2 separate regions of the Homo sapiens genome follow, and region 1 is linked to region 2. The links are contacts of gene promoters, found by promoter capture Hi-C in blood cells and fetal thymus (Javierre and others, 2016). All regions are on one chromosome and are shown on one strand. Each heading gives the region's core, a stretch centred on a gene start or on the middle of the fragment in contact. The rest is flanking DNA. Distances are from core to core; before and after follow the strand shown. Region 1 overlaps SLC35F1 (solute carrier family 35 member F1). Region 2 holds the start of MCM9 (minichromosome maintenance 9 homologous recombination repair factor).

What was found. The method cuts DNA at HindIII sites, captures the fragments that hold promoters and counts their contacts. A CHiCAGO score of 5 or more calls a contact.
Region 1: a contact is called between a fragment that was not itself captured here and the fragment with the promoter of MCM9 in region 2, in 1 of 17 cell types (total CD8 T cells). The highest score is 5.2, in total CD8 T cells.

What each region holds. Positions count from the first base shown.
Region 1 is chr6:118,281,854-118,285,371 of GRCh38, forward strand. SLC35F1 (solute carrier family 35 member F1) reads left to right here. Exons shown (of 8, transcript NM_001029858.4): 7 at 3,331-3,485. Among named protein-coding and RNA genes, the nearest start is that of PLN, 260 kb to the right of the region's middle. The HindIII fragment of the contact is 482 bases long and covers 1,521-2,002 here.
Region 2 is chr6:118,933,520-118,936,961 of GRCh38, forward strand. It overlaps MCM9 (minichromosome maintenance 9 homologous recombination repair factor), which reads right to left and starts at 1,640. Exons shown (of 14, transcript NM_017696.3): 1 at 1,372-1,640. LOC124901389 (a long non-coding RNA gene) reads left to right here and starts at 1,396. Exons shown (of 2, transcript XR_007059729.1): 1 at 1,396-1,471. RefSeq lists silencers at 889-1,138, 1,389-1,818. The HindIII fragment of the contact is 20,540 bases long and covers 1-3,442 here.

The DNA.
Region 1 (3,518 bases), core at 512-3,011, 650 kb before region 2:
CCTGTATAAAGAGGATAGCAATAGTTATCAGCATTACACTGTTGTGGAGATTAATTACTGTACATAAAGTACATGACACATAGTGAGTGCTCAATCCATATTAGCTGATAATAGTATTTCCCATCTCTGTAGCTTAAATCACTTTAGTGCATAAGGACAAGAGTGATCAAATTCTATCCTTAGTGAGAGAGAGAACATTCCAAGAGGAAATGTTTATACACATACTCTGTTATAAATGTAGTTACTGCAGCCATTTTGTAGTTGTCAGTCAAAAAGTAATTCAGTTCATTTGTATGATCATGCTGATCAATTGAAAACCCTACCTGGACAGCAAGTTGGACTTTCAGAGGCATTGTTAATGTCCATTAACTATCTAATGTCCATCTAAGAACAGCCAAGGAAGGGCAACGATACTGCATTCCAACTCTCAATTTAATCATGTGTTAACTAGGCTGGCTATGCTTTGCTTGGGAAACAGTATATTCACATGCAAAAACATCGGTTGACCTAGTTGTCAATTGTGATAGTGTATATATTCCACTCCTGTCCCCCTACCTCTAATTTCTGCAACATTTAAAAATAGGTTGAGAATATTTTAGCTGGAAGCATCATAAGGTAGCCTGGTTAGCAAAGTGCCATGTATTTATTTCCCTACTCTCCTTTGCTCACCAACTGGGCTTGTAAAATCTCACCACTTCTCTGAGTCCTCCAATTATATATCCAGCTCCCTACTGGACAGATCCTTTTGGATAATGCATAAGCGTCGAAAACAACACATTCAAAATGGAGCATTTTATTTCTCCTGAAAATCTGGTCCTCTTTTAGCTCCCTCCATCTCAGTATATGGCGTCACAGTTCACCTAGTTTCTAAATTAGCCAGAACCCCTGGGCATCCTCCATGCTCTCCTTTCCCTCACCACCTACATCAGTCTATCACCAGGGCTTCTTGAGTCTTCACAGACCACTTCCCTTCTCCACTGCCGTTTCGAGCAAAACCAAGCAAGCTACCAGCCTCTCTTGCCGGGATTGTGACACCGCCATTCTAACTGGTCTCTGTAACTGGTCCCATGCTTTTCTCCTTCCAATCCCTTCTCCACAGAGTAGCCAAAATCACCTTTTGAAAATGTAGATCAGATTCTTTTAGTCAGCTGCCGCAAACTCCTCAATGGCTTCCTCGTACAACTAGAATAAGATACACATTCCTTTCTGAGACCTGCAAGGTCTGGCATAATCCATTCCCTTCCCAATTTTCCAGCTTCCTCTGCCCGTTCTCTTCATTCTGCTCAGCCATTGTGGCCTTGGTCAGCATCTGGGACACTTGAGGCCCTGTCCCTTTCAGGAACTTTTCATGTGCAGGTTTCCTTGGCTCCTCTCCTGGCAATCTCCTTTTGGTCCTTCAGCACTCGAGGTAAATGCCACCTCCACAAAGTAGCCCTACCTCACCACCCTGTCTAAAGCAAGCTCCTGACATTCTCTTTAAGAAACACTTGTCTTTCTGCATAGCATTAATAGCAACTCTAAGCTTCTTGTCTATCCTGTTTTTCATTGTTCCTAGCCCACAGCAGAGTGCTCAGGGCATGGTTAGTACTCAGAGAATAATAGTTGAATAAATGAGTGAATATACCAACAGAGCCCACAAGTCAAAGTCCACGCAAAATGATGGAAGGGTATTATTCTGGAACTTTCTAACCCAGTCATGGTATTTAAATCAGTGACACCTTCAAAAAACAAAAGAAAAACGGAAACAAGGCTCTGGTGCCTAGATTGTGTTCCGATCAAGTTTTATTATTTTTAGTGGATTAATTTGAGGATTGATCTTGTCCCTAGTCTGTTAATCACAGATTTCTTTAAGGAGTACCAAATTAATTTTTATGTCTTTTCATGTATTAGTCATAAGTTATGTAATACTTATTGCATTTTTAGTAGTTTGGTTAAAAGGAAAATGCACTACAGGGAGCATGAAACCCACATGCAGAAAAACGGTCCGTTTTTAGAGAATTCAAGCTTCTGATAGAGAATTAAAAACCAAACTAATATTACTGCGATAGAATCTACACGTAGGACTTTTACCTTTCCGAAATAGGAAAGTGGTTGTTCCCCCTTCCTCTGAGGGCACTTCTACCACGCTAGAGGGGGCTGTTGTACTGAGTTTACTTACTTATGTTCAGAATAATTTTTTTGTAGATCTGATGTGGCTTTCATATGGAACGATGATTTGTGCCCTTAAGCACTTTTCATATGGGTAAACCCAATTTATCTTTGGATGAATCCCTGGTCTTCATAGTCAGAAAGACCAGATATTCGGTACCTACCAAACTCCCCAAAATCCCTAAGTCAGAGGAAGCAAATCTGCCCACAGCCCACACCAGATACATTTAATCAAGGATTCCTTTGGAAAGGTTATTTTTATTATGTTGTAATACCAAGGCAGACACTGAATTTTAGCACTTATGCTTATCCTATGCCTTATTCTTTCAAGGTGGAGAAAAGAGCATTATTTTTTTTTTACATTTGCATTGTATCAACATTTGGGGAAAGTATAGATTTAGCTGTAAACTCCTGCTTGGGACCCTGCAAAACAGAGTACCCATGTCTAGGCATAATTACAGAGAAAGAGAGAGATTTGAGGATGAGAGATTGGCCACATAGTATTTTAAGGTCATGAAAGCCCACATGTGAGAGTTCACAGTATGCCAGGACATGTGATGGAAGGGCAGGATTCTGTGTGTTTTGGGTAGAGCAGAACAGAATTCAGAAATCTGGAGGAGACTGACAGATCATCATGTATTCCCAGCAATGAATTCGTCCACCCAAGGCCACACAGTCAAGATTCTAATTCAGTATTCTAAGTCCAGGTCTCTTTGACATGCAAGCTCTTCAACTTTAAAGACTACGTAGTTATTCATCATTGTGGGCAATACATGATAGCAAGCAGTTTTGTTGCTATTACTCAAATTAAAAACTAAGAGGTAAAAAAAAGTTTCAAAATAGATGAGTAGCAAAAGCTGATTACAGCACAATTGGGAGAATTCAAAAACCTTGATTCTGTGTTCTGACTATCGCCACTAAGAGGCACTCCTTCCCAGAAGAAGCAAAATGTCAGCAATGCAATAAGAAGCAGAAAGTTCATTTTTCACACTTAATTTTTTTTAATCTAGTTTAATTTTTGTACTGTGTTATCCAATAATAAACATCAGTGAATAGGGGAAAAGAGAAACTGCCTTGTGTGAGTGACAAGTGGTGTGCACTCTTCCCCTTCTTTCCTGCTGTGGATGCTGAAGATGCCCTGGAGGAGGCCCTGACGCTGCCTTCTCTTTACTCTTCCCCCAGGACTGCTCTACGTTGGCTTTAGTGCCTGCATGTTTGGTCTCTACAGCTTTATGCCAGTCGTCATAAAGAAAACCAGTGCCACTTCAGTCAACCTCTCCTTGCTCACAGCAGACTTGTACAGCCTGTTCTGTGGATTGTTTCTCTTCCACTACAAGGTAAGTTGAGTGAGTGCTCCTTTGTGAAGATGA
Region 2 (3,442 bases), core at 390-2,889:
GAGAGAAACACTTATTTCGTTTGGAAAGAGATTGAGGACTGGAGAAGAGGTGTACTTAAATTTGACTTACTTCATTTGTCCAACATTTATTGTACTGGACTCTACAAATACGAATATTAAAGGAGACTGCTATAAAGTTCACAGTTTATCATCCTAAGTACGTGTTATACACGCTATTTGCTATATTTTGCTTTCTCTGAGAACCTACTATTCCGCAAGGTGTGAAACGTTTAAGAAGTACATATAGCAGTTAGGTCAAGAATCCTGACCACTATAGGAGGCCAGAGTGAGAGTAAGAATGAGTAAATGTATATCCAAAACAATGAGTGGAAATAAATTACGGCCTCCACGGTAATTTGTTTTTGGTTAAGCAATATAAATTCAGCCAAGTGTAAAGCAGAAAAAGCACTTGGGAAGGAATATCTCCACAATGTGGACTTTGCCCAAAAAAAAAAAAAAAAAAATCTGGACTCCCAACAGTGGCTACAAGAGAATCACTATGATTCTATTAAAGCATATTAAGTTTAGAGCCACAAATTTAGCAATTTGAAAAACAGCTCCACACAAGGCAGGAAAAGGGCAGCAGCAGAATTCAACGTTCAAATTAAGGTCAGATTAAATTTTGCCTAGTTAGGCTAGCATTTCTATGGTTATATGGACCATCGTTATTCATTCCCTTTCAACATCTATGCAAAACTGACTAATCAACTGTGTTATCAGCAGTTTGCTAAATCAATAAACGTACCTACTACCCACCCAGATAGACACTGGAGGGACTTTTTGTTTTGAGAAGGGTCATTTCACAACTTTCAAGTTCTCTTTCCTTTTCTTATTGAATATTTGGGGTCAAAATAAAATCATTTGCTTTACTTTGTCCTCTTGACCACAGCGAAGCGTCGAAAAGAAGACAGGAGAGTGCCTAACTGCACTGGCATCCCCCAGCTGTCTCCGGGAATCGCGGCAGCCCCGCCCCGCCCGCCTGCACCTGCCGGGAGCCCCGCCCCCTCCGCGCGGGCTGGCGGGACGCGCGCCCTCGGCCCCGCCCCACTCCCTCCGCCCCTCTCACTGCGGGGGCGCGCCATTTCGCGCCTCCGGGCCGCTCGGCTGCCCCAGGGGCGCCTGGCAAACGTGGAGTCGCTCGGTTTTGGAGGCATGCTTTCCAAACTTTCTAATTCACAGGGTCTTTGCACGCAGCCCCTGCCCCACAACACCTTGGCAGTCTCTGAGACTTCTGGGGCTCTTCTCCCGGGCAGCTCCCGTGCCTGTCCGGTCCCGGAGTTGAATAGTTTTTGAAGTAATGAGACGGGAACGAGACTTGGGACGAACTGGAGAAAAACATAACCGCGAAAGGAGGAGGCGGCTATCACTTACTGGCTGTGTCAGAAGTCGCCGGGAACGCGTTGCTCCCGAGGCCGAAGGGCCCAGAGAGCTCCAGCCAGGCAGCGGGTTCGTCTCCGGCGCAAGAAGGCTGGTGAGGCGGAGTGCGCGCGTGCACGTGGCCGCTCGAGGCGCCACCGGCCGCGGGGACGCGCGGGCTGTGTCGGGCGGCCTAGCGCCTGCGGCTCTGCCGGGCCTGCGCTCTCGACCGACGCCGGGCCGCGCACCGCCTCAACTTCCCTGCCCCGGCGGCTCTTCCGGATGGAGACGAGGCAGCGGGGCGGGGTGGAGCGGAGCGGGCGGATTGGGGCGGAGCCAGGAGGGTCCCGGGCGGGGAGAGGGGCGGGACCCGAGCAGTGACCTCAGGCTAAGTGGCCAGAGCAGGGTTGTGCGGCGGCTCAGATCGGATCTTAGGGTTTGTTTTTTGTCTGTCCAAGGAATTTGCCTAACCCAAGGCCACAGAGGATCTCTTCTGTGTTTTCTGACACAAGTTTTAGAATTTTAGGTTTTATATTGAGGTCTGTGATCCAATTAGAGCTAATTTTTGTCTGTGGTGCAAAGTATGGATCTTAGGTCATTTTTTTGTATGTGAATAGTGTCATTTGTTTAGAGAGCTTTCTTTTTCTCACTGAATAGCTTTTGCACCTATGTTTAAAATCAGTTGTCCCTAAAGCATCAGTTGTGGGTCTATTCTTAGACTTTCTATTCTGTTCCGACAATTTATTATATTTCTCTCTACAAAAATACCACATTGTCTTGATTCCTGTAGATTCGTAAGAGTCTTAAAATCAGATCGTGTTTGGCCTCCAATTTTTTGTTATTTTTCAAAAATGTTCTGGCTCATCTAGTCCCTTGGGTTTTCATATGAATGTTAAAATCAGCTTGTCACTTTAAAAAGTTGGGATTGTGATTGGTTACATTTCGTCTATAGATCCATGTAAGAATAATTTACATGTTAACAATATTTAGTAATGACCCTTAAAGTAAGCCTCTTCATTTATTTAGGTGTTATTTCACTCAGCAAATGTTTTGATCTTTTGTCAGGTCTAGTCTTATATAGTCCATTTTCACAGTGCTAATAAAGACATACCTGGGACTGAGTAATTTATAAAGGAAAGACGTTTAATTGACTTACAGTTCAGCATGGCTGGGGAGACTTCAGGAAACTTAAAATCATGGCAGAAGCGGGAGCAAACCTCCTTCTTCACAGGGCTGCAGGAAGGAGAAGTGAGGAGCAAGGAGGGAAAAGCCCCTTAGAAAACCATCAGATCTTGTGATACCTCACTCACTATCAGAGAACAGCATGGGAATAACCACCCCCATGATTCAGTTACCTCCCACCGGGTCCCTCCCACAACACCTGGGGATTATGGTAACTACAGTTCAAGATGAGGTTTGGGCAGGGACACAGCCAAACCATATCACCCTATGTCAGATTTATCCATAAATCTAAGGATGGGGGAAAAATATACTTCTTGATATTATGTAAATGACATTTTAAATTTTCAGTTGTTCTTTGATAGTGTCTTAGTCTGTGTTGCTAAAAAGGAATGCCTGAGACTGAATAATTTACAAATAAAAGAGGTTTATTTGGCTCACACTTCTGCAGGCTGCTTCTGGTGAGGGCTTCAGGCTGCTTCCACTCAGTGAAGGGGAGGCTGCCTGTGCAGATCACATGGCCAGAAGAGAAGCAAGAGAAAGGGGAGGTAGTGGTCAGGCTCTTTTTAACAATCAGCTCTGGAGGCAACTAACAGAATGAGAACTCATTATGCAATGGCAGCACTAAGTTTTCCTGAAGGATCTGCCCCTGTGACCCAGACACCCCCAACTAGGCCCCACACTTGGGATCAGATTTTAAGATGAGATTTGGAAGGGAGAAATACTCAAACTATGTCAGATAGTGTGTAAAAATATGATTGGGGGTTTTGTTGTTGTTGTTACAGGTTCTTGCTCTGTTGCTCAGGCTGGAGTGCAGTGGTGTGATCATGGCCCACTGCAACCTCTGTCTGCCAGGTTCAAGCAATCCTCCTACCTCAGCCCCCTAAGTAGCTGGGTGATATGGTTT